2 separate regions of the Homo sapiens genome follow, and region 2 is linked to region 1. Evidence: promoter capture Hi-C in 16 types of primary human blood cells and fetal thymus (Javierre and others, 2016). All regions are on one chromosome and are shown on one strand. Each heading gives the region's core, a stretch centred on a gene start or on the middle of the fragment in contact. The rest is flanking DNA. Distances are from core to core; before and after follow the strand shown.

Region 1 (7,225 bases), core at 1,974-4,473:
TTTATCTTCCATTTTTGCCTTCTTTTAGATTTAGTAAGTATTTTTCATTATTCCATTTCTCCCTTTTCTTAGTTGTTAGTTATATACTATTTCATAATTCTGTTAGTGATTACCTAAATGATGGCAATATGCAATCTTGATTTGCTACCATAAATTCATTATTTTACCACTGCCTGGATAATGGAAGAACATTATTGTTTTTAAACTCTTTGTCAGCACCTCACCCCCTGAATTCTCTCTATATTTTACATTTCAGAAGTCATTACTATTACTGTTTTGAATAGTCAATATATATCTAGTTTCACTTACATATTTACCATTTCCAGTGATACTCTTCATTATTTTTTGCACCATTGGGATTTCATCTGGCATCATTTTTTTTTCATCTGGCATCATTTTTTTAACCCGAAGAACCCTCTTTAATATTTCTTTTGACATGGGTCTGCTGGAAACAATTTACATGAGTTTTGTTTATCTGAAAACATCTTTATTTTGCCTTCATTTCTTAAGGATATTTCCACTGTGTAAAATTCTGGATTTGTCATTATTTAAAGCATATGAAAGATGTTGTTTCATGATTTTCTTGCTTCCATTGTTTCTTTTGAGAAGTCAGCTTATATTATTGTTAAAGTTTGATTTTTTTCTCCAGCTGCTTTTAAGCTTTTCCTTCTATCTTTTGTTTTCAGCATTTTTACAAAAATTTTCCTAAATTGTGAATTTCTTTGTATACGTCCTGGTTGACATTAACAGTGCTCTTGGATCAGTGTTTTGTCAGGAAATTTTTAGCAGAGTCTCTTCTTGCTTCTGTCTCATTTTTTCAAGGGTCTTGTTGGAGTCCAATTATTCCATTTACTATGTTAGACCTTTTCAGTTTTTTCAAATATCTGTCATGCTTTTTTTTTTCTTTTGAGATAGGGTCTCACTCTGTTGCCCAGGCTGGAGTGCAGTGGCTTGATTACAGCTCACTGCAGCCTCGGCCTCCTGGGCTCAAGCAATCCTGATCGTCCTGCCCTAGCTTCCTCAATAGCTAGGACTACAAGTGCATACCACCATACCTGACTAATTTTTAAATTTGTTGTAGAGATATGGTCTCACTTTGCTGCCCAGGCTGGTCTCAAACTCCTGGACTCAAGTGATCCTCCCACCTCAGCCTCCCAAAGTGCTGGGATTACAGATGCGAGCCACCATGCTAGGCCAGTCATGCTTTTTTGTTTGTTTTTAGTTCTTTTTCTGTGCATAACTTTTGTTATTCATTTATTTAGATTTTTTAGGAAAACCAGCAGCAGAACACTTAAGATCAATAATAATAAAGAACAGTTACCTCATTTCTATTTGATTTTTACAGAGACTTTTTGCCAAGAGTACTAAGACTAGTACCTTCTATGACACCCCAACTCTGACAAGAGGCAGTAACCACTAATATACATTCTCCTCTCCCTTATTTGGAGATGAATTCAGATACATTAAACTGCAAGTAATTTTACGCTTAAGCCTTGTACAACACTAAAATATACAGTAATAATAGTCATTATACAAATGTATGGTTGAGTTTATGATATGGTTAGGATCTGTGTCTGTGCCCAAATCTCATGTTAAATTATAATCCCCAATGTTGGAGGAGGGACCTGGTGGGAGGTGATTGGATCATGAGGGCAGAGTTCTCTTGAATGGTTTGACACCATTCCTGCCTTGGCACTGTATAGTGAGTGAGTTTATCATGAGATCTGGTTTTTTAAAAGTGTGTGGCAGATCACGAGGTCAGGAGTTCGAGACCAGCCTGACCAACCTGGTGAAACCCCGTCTCTACTAAAAATACAAAAATTAGCCGGGTGTGGTGGTGGGCGCCTGTAATCCCAGCTACTCGGGAGGCTGAGGCAGGAGAATCGCGTGAACCCGGGAGGCGGAGTTTGCAGTGAGCTGAGATCATGCCACTGCACTCTAGCCTGGGCGACAGTGCGAGACTGAAAAAAAAAAAAAAAGTGTGTGGCACCTCCCTGCCTCCCTGCACCCTCTCTCTTCCTCTTACTCCGGCCACGTGATAGCTGCACTCCCCCTTCCCCTTCTGCCACAACTGTCCATTTCCTGAGGCCTCCCCAGGAGTGGAGCAGATGCCAGCATCATGCTTCGTGTACAGCCTGTGGAACCATGAGCCAATTAAACCCCTTTTCTTTATAAATTACCCAGTCTCAGGTATATCTTTATAGCAATATGAGAGTGGACTACTACAGCTTACCTTTGAGTGTTTTACACATTTATGGGTATGCTTTTTGTTTGTAACCATAATTAGGAAGGCGAGAGCATTACTGGTCTTTATTGGACTGGGGCTACGAATGCTATGTAGTCTGCAATGGAAGGGACAGGTCCATACAAGGGATCAATAGTTATACTTCATGCAGGATTTCCAACAGTTCTGCTAGAGTATTCATGTAGGTGACATGCCTGCTAATAATGATCTAACCTTATACTCTTAGTACCTTTTACATATGAACCCTAAAATACATTTTTTAAATCCTTTAGATAAGAGATTGAATTCTTCATGGATAGTACACAGAGGGTATATTATGTTTTGTTTGTTTGGAACTTTACAGAGAATTCGCCACAATTTTGGAAAACCACATCAACTACCTTACTTTGCTGGCGGTATGTTTGTTGCTTATACAACTAATGCTTTGTCAGCAATGAAGCACATCATCTGAATATGCAGTTGAGGGGATTCTACATAGATAGATGCAAGCATCTGATCACTTCATTGGTCTTCCGCATTTCATAAGGAGAAAAATATTACCTTGTTATAAATTACTTCATTTTTTCCTTCAAGTTGAAGCATCGTCGTGTATATTGATTTAAAAATTATATGTGTAGGCATGTGATATTAGTTACTAATTTTAGCTGAAGATAATTATAATTTTATTTCAGATTTCTGTTATTAAAAAGGTCTGGAATCGGATAGGTTGAGATCAACCCGATACCACGATATTTGCTAAAATTTATTTGAACACACAGAAAAGTCCCAACACAGAGAACTCTTTATTACTATTATTTATTATTTCTACTATTCTTTTAAAAAATTATTATCGTTACACGCAGCGGTTTTAGGCACTATGAAGTGTTTATTGCCTCGGGGCTGGGAACCTTTGCGCCCTTCTTCAGCTGTGCTCTCAGGCAGTTACCGGCCAGACCCGGACCGGAACCTTGGCGCGGTGACGCTAGTTTCCGGCGGGCTACTTAGAGCGCCGAACAGCTCTGGGCCAAAGGACCATGAGAGGGCCGGAGCCGGGTCCCCAACCGACGATGGAGGGAGACGTGCTGGACACACTGGAGGCGCTGGGGTGAGTGCTTTTGGAGACGCCTTTTCCCTGAAAACGCAACCTCTCCTTGGCCTGGCTGCTTAGCCTACTTCCCTTGGGCCTCTGTGGGCCTGGGCGGCCATGTGTAGGCCTCCTTCCCTGCCTCGATCCCTCCGGCGCCGACGGAGTTAAGCGGGAGGCGGGAGAGAAATCTATTTGGGGGGTGGAGCAGGGCCGGAGAGCTGGGGTTCGTGGCCCCCTCTTCGAAACTTCTTGCCTCGAAACTCTGTTGCAGGAATCCGCCGGGTGGCGCGGAGCGGCCCTTCTAGCACCGGTTTTCTGGGCTAGCTCGCGCCCGCAGGTGATATTTGTGTTGACGTAGTTCTGGCGCCCGGAGGGAGGTGCTGGAACCTGAGCTGCTGTTGAGGACTGTTGTCTCCTACAATGTACAACTTGTGGCTTACTTGGGGCTCTGGAGCGAATGGCTTTTACTTTGACCGGAGAAAGTGTTGTAGTTCATTGCGAGTTCGTTCTTTCAACCATTTCGTCCGTTCGTCAACGTGTATATTAGCTTGTATATTAATTTACACATATTTACGTTTGTAAATTTCCCCTAGGCAAGGGAAAAGGATAGTTTTTCAGATTACTCTTGGCTTACATAGTCGCGCAGGCTGCAAGTCTGCTGCCGGCTGGTATTTACAGTGCAGAATGGTAAGTGCTGTGAGAACTCAGGGTGGAGGTGGGAGTAATGTTAATACTTAACAAGTGTGGTGGTTCGTAATCTCCCCCTCAACCTCATCCTGTTTTTTTCCACACAGCTCTTGTCCCCATCCCAAATTATCATGTCCTGCCCATTCATTTGTCTCTTGAACTCTGCTTCTCCCTCGTTTTATTCCTCCTCCTCCCCAAGTCAGCTCCTGGAAAACTGATGCTTTGCATATTTTATTCACCGATGTTTTCCCAGCAACACACTAGAACGGAGTCTTTTACAGTAAATAGTGGTTGAATGAATGAGTAAATGAATGAAGAAAAGCTTAGAGAAGAGTCCACAGCAGTAAGCATAGGACCAGATAGTTGAGTCATACAGTGCACATTAAATAAAGAGCTTGGAGCCATCTGCACATTTGTTTGCCCTGCTACGTGCTGCTGTTTCTTGATAGGGGAAGCTGTGCCTTTGCAGCGTTATTATGAAGCTTGAACCAATCCCACACCCCACTTTATCTTCTCTAAAACTGCATTTGCCCCTCTATCAATTGTTTCTTTAGTTGAACCCTGATAATACCTACTTTGCAGTGACCCAGGGTTACGGAGTCTTGCACTTAGTAGATCGTGAATACATATTTGTCAAACGAAAGAACAGTGCCATTGATTATTTAGGGGGCATTTTTACTTCTGTGAAGTCCCTTGGAAGTTCTCACTTAACTTGGTTAAGAAGGAACCAAAACAAGAACTGAAAATACTTAGTAGAATTATTTAGGCTCCAAACAGTTTGAGCTCCCAAGTACTTCAGGTAAGAATATTGGGAACTCATAAATGGTTTATGAAAAAGGAAAAGGCAGTGCTTTTCTTCTTTCTTCATTTCTTGAACTTATTGTTCATATTATAAGTGTTTTAGAAAATTCATTGCTATAATCTTGATTTTTATCAAGGAAAATTAGTCAGATTATTCAACATGGAAAGTAAAACAGTTTACACACTCCAAAATTAGTTTTTCCTGGAATAACTATGAGGGCAACATTTTGAAGTTTGAATTCTCCTATGATAATACGATGTGAAAAAAGTAGTTATTTACAATATGTGTTGTAATGGAACACTGTGTTTTCAAATATCCATGTAGATAGTGAATAATGCATTTTCTGTTGTAAGGTATTGAGGATATCAGCAAAGGTACTTCAGTTTGTCATGTAAAATAAATTAATGGGAGGCATTTGAAGGGAAAAATCTATGTGAAAGGACAATTTAGTGATACAGGTGAAAACAGGATAGGCTAGGAGTCAGTCAGTTTTCTCATCTGTGAAAAGAGAGGGCTGGAGCAGATGATTTTAGAAGTCTCTTTCAGTTCTGATAGTCTCTGATTTTGTGGAATAGTAGATCTCAACACTGGAAGTACATCAGAGTCGTGTGGAACTTGTGAAAAACTGTTCCAGTCTAGTATATACCATAGACTGACCGAATCATAATCTTCAGAGGTACAGTACAGACCTGCATATTTTTAAAAAGATTCACAGACTCAGTTGAGAAACACTACTATGGAGAGAAGTTTCCTTTAAATATTTATTGAACACACTGTATATTGGACCTCGTTCTGAGGAGTCAGTGGTGAGCAAAATAGACTTGGTTCCTACCCTTGTGGAGTTTATAATCTAGTGGAGAAACAGACATGATCACAAAAACAATTATAAACTATAATAAATGTGTCAAAGGAAAAGAACAGGGTGATGTAACAGGAGGATCTAAGAAGTCTTAGGGGTTAGTGATAGATTCCTGAGGAAGTGACATTTGAGTTGAAATAAGAAGGGTGAATAGAAATTAAGTAGTTAAGGTTGGATGGATGAAAAAGGGGGACAAAGATATCCTTACAGTGAGAAGAAAATGTGAAGACTTTGAAATGTGAAGGAGCTTGCTGTATTAGAAGAACTGGAAGGAGGCTAATGTGGTTGGAAGGCAGAGTGTGAGGGGCAGAGTGGTGGGAAATTGGATTCAAGAGTTAGGTGAAAATCAGGGCATGCAGCCCCTTTTAGTCTGTGTTGTGGATTTTATTCTTGATCATAACAGCAATGGGATGTGATCGAATAATTTTAAATAAAAAGGGAGTGGTTAGATGTCTAGTTTGAAAGTTACATCTGTCAGCAAGATGGAAAATAGATTGGAGAATTTAGTTAATAGTCTGTGAAAGAAATGATGGTTGCTTAGTGGCAGTGGATATGGGAAGAACTACATTACTGAACTTAGTGATTGATTGGATATTAAAATTCAAGGATTCATTTCTCTTTATTTTAAAAAATTTTTTAGATACAGGGTCTTGTTATGATACCCGGGCTAGTCTTGAACTCCTGGCCTCAAATGATCTCCTGCCTTGGCTTCTCAAAGTGTTGGGATTACAGGTGTGAGCCACCACGCCCCAACAGATTAATTTCTTCAGTTGGTATTTATTGAGCACCAAAATGAAATGATACACCTTAGAATCTAAATTGGATACAGAAGAATGTGAAGATAGGAGAGAGTTGGTAAATATGGAGAATGCAGAGGAATCAATGAATGGAGGTAATGATGATATCAAAGAATAGTTATAGGTGAGTGGTCGAAGAAGCAAGTGGAAGGATAAATAAGAGGTTGTGGTCAGGGAGCCACATGTTTGGATAAGTGATTTTGGAGGTGCAGTGGTTGTAAGTAATGGCAAGGGTGCAAGGGGGGCTGAGTGACATGTGCAGGTTGGAATTGAGAGCTCAGGGTGTGAGATAGGGTATACATACAGACATTAAAGAAACTCAGTGTAATGGCAAGAATAGAGGTGGAGAGGAAAACTGAGCAAAGGGGATGTTGGGGAGTGTCCAAGAGGTAATAGATGAAAACCACAAGTGAATGGGTGGCAAATCTGAGTGGCCTGTGCCTCAAGGAAATAGGAGATATTTATAAGATAATGGGAGAGCAGTGATAATGATGCTATTTTGGTAAGAAAGGAGGCCAAAACTCCTACTATCTGACCTTAAGGCATTTGTGAAAATAAAAATAATTAAAGCTAGAGATGGTAGGAATAACAATCTTACTTTTTTTTTTTTTTTTTAAGAAAGAGAATTTTCAGAGTCAAAAGAACAGAAATCAGTAATCTGTTCTCTTCCAGGGTGGGGAGAAAACCTCCTTCCCCATAGGTTCGAGACTATGGCTAGATGGTGAAGAAGGGAGCTCAGTACCCAACCTTGGGGAGACACAGAAAGGGC
Region 2 (6,629 bases), core at 667-3,166, 7.0 Mb after region 1:
GGAGGCTGCCATGCATGCCCTCCTTCATAGTGAGAAGGTAAGAAGTGTTAATTTATGAACATCTATGTTAATCTATTATTGTAACAGATTAATTTGGGGGTTAAAAAAAAGCGGTGAGTACATTTTCCTTAGAACATTTGATAGCTTCCACAGCTGTTGCTTATACATTTTACATCTCAACTCTATATAAATAGTATATGATTGAGGGTGGGGATAAAGGGCTGAGTCCTCTGGGTCTACTGAGTGAATTTGTTCCCTACTCTTATAGTAACTCCCTAGTGCTGAAGCCCAGAGCAGCCAAGAAATAGTGTGGCCCCAGAAGAATCAAAGAGTTTTTTTAATTTGAATTTTTTTATTTTGAGGCAATTTCAGACTTAGAAGTTACAAAAATAGTACAAAGAGTTTCCATATACCCTTCTCCTAGATTCTCCAAATGTAACATTTGCCACATTTGCTTTATCATTCTCTCTTCATGTGTATTTCCTTATATATATACATATATATAATGAAATATTTGAGCATATACTACATCCATGATGCCCCTTTACCCGCGAAAACGTAAGTGTATATTTCTGAAAAACAAGGACCTTAACCACAGTATGATGATCAAGCTGAGAAAATTAACGCAGACATAATACTTGTACTTAACCTAAATAGGCCTTAATCTAGAATCATACTTCAGGCTTTCTTCTATGAAAACATAACTTTTTAAGAGTCAGTTATTCTGTGGAATATTCGTCAGTTTGGGTTTGACTAATGTTTCTTCATGATTCAATTCAGGTTTTGCATTTTGGGCAGGAATATAATAGAAATGATCCTGTGTCTTTCTCATTGCATCTGTTAGGCAGCACATGATATGTTTCTGTTCTATCACTGGTGAAGTTAACTTTGATTTCTTGGTTAAGGTGGTGTCTGTGAGATTTCTCCATTGTCAAGATACCGTTTTTCCCTTTGTTATTAATAAGTATCTAGTGGGAGAAATAAGCTTTTCTAACCTAGGAGAAGATTGGGCACTTGGAATTGTATTTAAATTTGTCCTTGATCTGCAGGTCTGTAATTCATGACTATTTCCTAACAATATTTAAGATATTAGATTAAATATAATACTTTTCAACTTTGTTGGTTGTAAAATCCAGTATTTTGTATATAATAAATAGTCCTGAATCCTTAAACCCATTCAGGAAAAAACTGATTTCAGCAGGCTAAGGATTCTGAAACAGAGTTTTCAATCTCATTTGTAACATCAAAATTGTCTTTTCATCTTAAACTGCAAAAGAATGATTTATTATCCTAAATTTTGAAAAACCTTTTTACCTAAATAATTTATACCTTGCCTCACTTCCTTTCCTTTATTTCTACAGTTACACCGAAGGTGGGGAGGAGTTATGTGATCTTCTAGTTGATCTTTTAAGTCTTCATCTTGTAGGTTTAGACCAAAACTACTTGAAGTTTTAAAGTTCTGTGTGTAAAGATGTGAGAATAGATGTCTTTTGAGGGAGACAATAAGTAAGCAGGAGATGGGAAGGGAGATTTACATTCAGGATTTCCTCTGCTTTGAAGTTCCAGGTTTGACCATAAGCACCTCTCACTTAGGTGGACCAGTCAGCTGCTGTCGTCCCAGGGTGGAGCCCACTGCTACTTCAGGAGGGGCCTGCTCAGGTGTAGTTACCACAGGTGATGGCTGAGTTCAGAAACAACCCAGGGGAAGTGGAAGGAAGAAAGGCAAAAAGCATGAAGGGACAGACAACTGGGAAGGTACTGGCTCCATCTTTTATTCTTTCCCCCACCAGCTGAGGGGCTGCTGCTACCTCTCCCTGTACCAGGGCAGATAAGGGATACCTTACACTTTGTTAAACTTTTTGTGAAGTATTCCTATTAAAGGATTAGAACTGTAGTTTAACACTCAGACACACACAGAGGGGAAAGAATGTATAAGCCCAAAGAATCAAGTAAAATAATGTGTACACACATGATCTTGAACTATAAATGAGATTTTCAAATATTAGTTCGTGTTACCTAAAGATTAGTTAATATTTGGACATCAGACACCTAACATACTATCAGCCAGTTAAAAAGGCTTTTTTTTAAGTATATAATAGGGTTATTCATGAGAAATGAAGATAGAAAATTATAAAGAACTGCCTACCTGAAATCTCACTTTCCAGAGATGACAATTGTTAACACTTTTGGGAGAATACTTTACAGAATAGCTCTATACATACAGATTCACTTAACATCTGTTTACAAATAAGAAAAGACAGTTTGTTTTTGAAAACGGGAATTTGTGGACAACTAGATGTTTAGAATTGGATATAAGAGGGCAAATACTTTAATAAATACAGTACAGATATTTTTAATAAAATTTTCAGGACTTTTTAACTAACAAAAAAAAATGTGTTTCACTAGAATGATCAAGGAGAATGTAAAGAGTCTCCAAAATATAACCTGAGAGTGAAGACGACTTCTCTAGGCATAACATAAACCTTAATAGCCAAAAAAGAGATTATTTGCTGAGTTGACCATTTGGGGGTGGCAAAACAATACTATAAAGTAGTCAGACTAGGAAAAATACTTTTAGTCCAATTTCCTTGATAGGGAATGAACAAATCTTACAAATCAGTAAGAAAAGACCAACAGTCCAAGAGAAAATGGGTAATGGGGTATGAACAGGTAGTTGACAATAAAAGGAATGACAATAAACATGAAAGATGTTCAACCTTGATTTCTTCTAAAATTATTGTCTTTATTTTGAAATAATTAAAACTTATAGGAAAGTTGCAAGATAGTTACAAAGAACTTCCACTAAACCCTTTATCCAAATTCACCAATTTTTAACTTTTTGCCAAATAAGCTTTATCATTCTCTTTTGCTCTCCTTGCTCCCTCTCCTCTTCTCTTTCTCTCTCTCTCTGTCATCTCCATATATATGTATTTATATGCACATAGTATTTATTTATTTTGGACTATTTGAGAGAATGGGTTGCATATATCATGACACTTTATCCCTTAACATTTTAATGTCTATTTCCTAAGAACAGAAATGTTCCCATATGTCACCACAGTATGGTGATGTATAGTGTTGTGTCCTTAGAGCCTCACATGTAGAGGCACAGAGTGTACATTGGTTCCTCATTGGTGATGCTAACTTTTATCAACTAGTTCAGGCAGTGCGCAGTTTCTCCACTGTGGAACTGCTATTTTTCCCTTTGCCACTAATGAGAAATCTGTGGGGAGACACTTTGAGATATCCTGCTCCTCATCAAACTTTCAGGCTGGGCACAGTGGCTTACACCTGTAGTCCCAGCTGCTCAGGAGGCTGAGATAGAATGATCACTTGAGCCCAGGTGTTCGAGGCTCAATGAGCTGTTGCCTCAATGCCACTGCACTCCAGCCTGGGCAGCAGAGCAAGACCCTGTCTCATAAATGAATAAACTTTTACTCCCCTCAACATAGCATCCAATTCTTGCTCATAACAGCCTTTACTATCATGATTGCAAGACGGGCGATTTTTTTAATTCCAATATTCCCTCTACCTCATTTTGAATTGAAGAAATTTAGTTAACACAGTAATGAATGAGTACTGGTTCTTCCTGTCATATTGGCAGACATTTAAGAGTTTGGAAATGGGCCACGTGCGGTGGCTCACACCTATAATCCCAGCACTTTGGGAGGCTGAGATGGGTGGGTCAGTTGAGGTCAGGAGTTCAAGACCAGCCTGGCCAACATGGGGAAACCCCGTCTCTGCTAAAAATACAAAAATTAGTCAGGTGTGGTGGCTCATGCCTATAAATCCCAGCTACTCGGTAGGCTGAGGCACGAGAATCATTTGAACCCAGGAGGCGGAGGCTGCAGGGAGCCAAGATCACAGCACTGCACTCCAACCTGGGTGACAGAGTGAGACCCCGCCAAAAAAAAAAAAAAAAAGAGTTTGATAATGTCTGTACTGGAGAGGTGTGGAGAGAACACAGCTTCATATTATCGGAGAAGAATAAATTGTTGCAGCTTCCTTAGAGGACAATTTGGTAATAGCTGTCAAAATTGTATATGTGTGTACTTGTAAACCCAGTAATTCTACTTTGAGGAAATTATTACATAAAATACTTGAACATGAGTTTGAACATGGTGGCTCATGCCTGTAATCCCAGCACTTTGGGAGGCTGAGGTGGGAGGATCGCTCGAGCCCATGAGTTCCAGACCAGCCTGGGCAACATAGGGAGACCGCATCTCTACAAAAAAAAAATATATATATTTTTTTAATTAGCCAGGCTGGTGGCACATACCTGTAGTTCTAGCTACTCCGGAGGGTGAGGTGCAAGGATTACTTGAGCCTGGGAGACTGCAGTGAGCTATGATAACATCACTGCATTCCAGCCTGGGTAACAGAGTGAGACCCTGTCTCAAAATAAACAAATACTTGAACATGAGCACAAAGACTTTTTCAGTTGCAGCTTTGTTTTTAATATCTAAAGACTGGGGATGACCTAACGTTTGTCAGAAAGGTGTAGTTGGGGTAAATTCAGTAGTGTATTATGGAATTGTCAAAAAGAATGACGTAGAACTGTGTTAGTTGACATGAAAAGCTCTCTAAGATAGGTGAAAGAAGAAAAGTACAGGCTGATATAGTATGGTTCCATTTGTGTATCTGTTTAAAAGGATATATGTATGCTTACTAGCATAACATACTGGAAAAATACACAAACTCTTGACATCTTTCGGGGAAGAATTACTGGCAGGAATTGGCAGGGAGACATTTAATTCTTTGTACTATGTATATAAATTGTTTTTATAATGATAACAAAATAACTTTACAAATCCAAAAGAAGATTTTAAAAACAAATTGTGCTATAAAAAAAGACCAACCTAATTTTTGGTTTGATTTTGCTTTTTTGGGTGTATTTCTTCAGAACCAGGACAATCCTGTGATTGATGAAATAGACTTCCTTGAAGCTTTTAAAAATATTCAGCCCTCATCGTTTCGAAGCGTCATTGGATTAATGGATATCAAGCCTGTTGACTGGGAGGAGATTGGTGGCCTTGAAGATGTAAAACTGAAGTTAAAACAGGTAAGACAGATAATCTACTTAATCCAGTAGGATATTACAGATTAACATTCTGTGCATTTATGATGACAACATACTGCGCTGAAACTGCTCTTGCTCCTATCACTAATGTGATCCTAACATCTAAATCCAATGATTGCTTTTCAGTCCTTATTTAATTGGACTTCTGTGGATGTCTAAACTGGTTTTTATAATTTCCCACCTCGACCCTCTCTTTGTTTTTGCTTTAAAGAGTTTATAACCTAAGGCTGGGTGTGGTGGCTTATGTCTATAATCCCAGCACTTTGGGAGGCCAAGGGAGGAGGATTGCTTGAGTTCAGGAGTTCAAAACCAGCCTGGGCAACATAGCAAGCCCTTGTCGCTATTTAAAAAAAAATAAGTTTATAATCTAAGGCTGGGCGCAGTGGCTCATACCTATAATCTCAGCATTTTAGGAGGTTGAGGTGGGTGGATCACCTGAGGTCAGGAGTTCAAGACCAGCCTGGCCAACATGGTGAAACCCCGTCTCTACTAAAAATACAAAAATTAGCTGGGCATGCTGGCAGGTGCCCATAATCCCAGCTACTCGGAAGGCTGAGGCAGGAGAATCACTTGAACCCGGGAGGCAGAGGTTGCAGTGAGCCAAGATCCCACCACTGCACGACAGCCTGGGCAACAGAGAAACCGTGTCCGGGGGGAAAAAAGTGTATAACCTATAGTCTTAGCACTTTAGAAGGCCGAGACAGGAGGATCTCTTGAGGCCAAGAGTTCAAGACCAGACTGGGCAACAAAGTAAGACTCCCCATCTCTATTTAAAAAAATTATTTTGACACATGTTTGCTCTGTCACCCAGGCTGGAGTATTGTGTCACAAACACAGCTCACTGCACCCTTGAACTCCTGGGCTCAAGCAGTCCTTCTGCCTCAGTGCCCCACCAAGTAGCTGGGACTACAGGTGCATACCACCACGCCTGGCTAATTTTTAAATTTTTTGTAGAGATAGAGTCCCACTGTGCTACTCAAGCTGGCCTTGAACTCCTGGGCTTAAACAGTCCTCCAACTCGGCCTCCTAAAATGGTGGGATTATAGTCATGAGCCACCATGCCTGGCCTACAAAAAATTTTTTTAAATTAGCCAGGTGTGGTAGCACGTGCTTATGGTCCTAGCTACTCAGGAGGATCACTTGAGGCTTGACCCCAGGACACCCAGGAGATCGAGGCTGCAGTGAGCTATGATTGCACCACTGCACTGCAGCTTGGGCAACAGAGCGAGATCCTGTGTCTTTAAAAAAAAATTAAAAAACAATTTTGACTGGGCATGGTGGCTTACACCTGTAATCCCAGCACTTTGGGAGGCCGAGGCAGGCAGATCACCTGAGGTCAGGAATTAGAAACCAACCTGGCTGGCATGGAGAAACCCCATTTCTACTAAAAATGCAAAAAATTAGCCAGGCGTGGTGGCGCATGCCTGTAATCCCAGCTACTCAGGAGGCTGAGGCAGGAGAATCGCTTGAACCCGGGAGGTGGAGGTTGCAGTGAGCCAAGACCACGCCATTGTACTCCAGCTTGAGCAACAAAAGTGAAACTCCATCT

The links. The method cuts DNA at HindIII sites, captures the fragments that hold promoters and counts their contacts. A CHiCAGO score of 5 or more calls a contact.
Region 2: a fragment that was not itself captured here is called in contact with the fragment with the promoter of FAM98B in region 1 in 1 of 17 cell types (monocytes); the score reaches 7.4 in monocytes.

The regions. Positions count from the first base shown.
Region 1 is chr15:38,450,904-38,458,128 of GRCh38, forward strand. FAM98B (family with sequence similarity 98 member B) reads left to right here and starts at 3,224. Exons shown (of 8, transcript NM_173611.4): 1 at 3,224-3,329. The coding sequence starts at 3,259. RefSeq lists enhancers at 3,372-3,481, 3,542-3,641. The HindIII fragment of the contact is 3,660 bases long and covers 659-4,318 here.
Region 2 is chr15:45,405,469-45,412,097 of GRCh38, forward strand. AFG2B (AAA ATPase AFG2B) reads left to right here. Exons shown (of 8, transcript NM_024063.3): 2 at 1-37; 3 at 4,904-5,062. Among named protein-coding and RNA genes, the nearest start is that of AFG2B, 6.4 kb to the left of the region's middle. The HindIII fragment of the contact is 1,866 bases long and covers 984-2,849 here.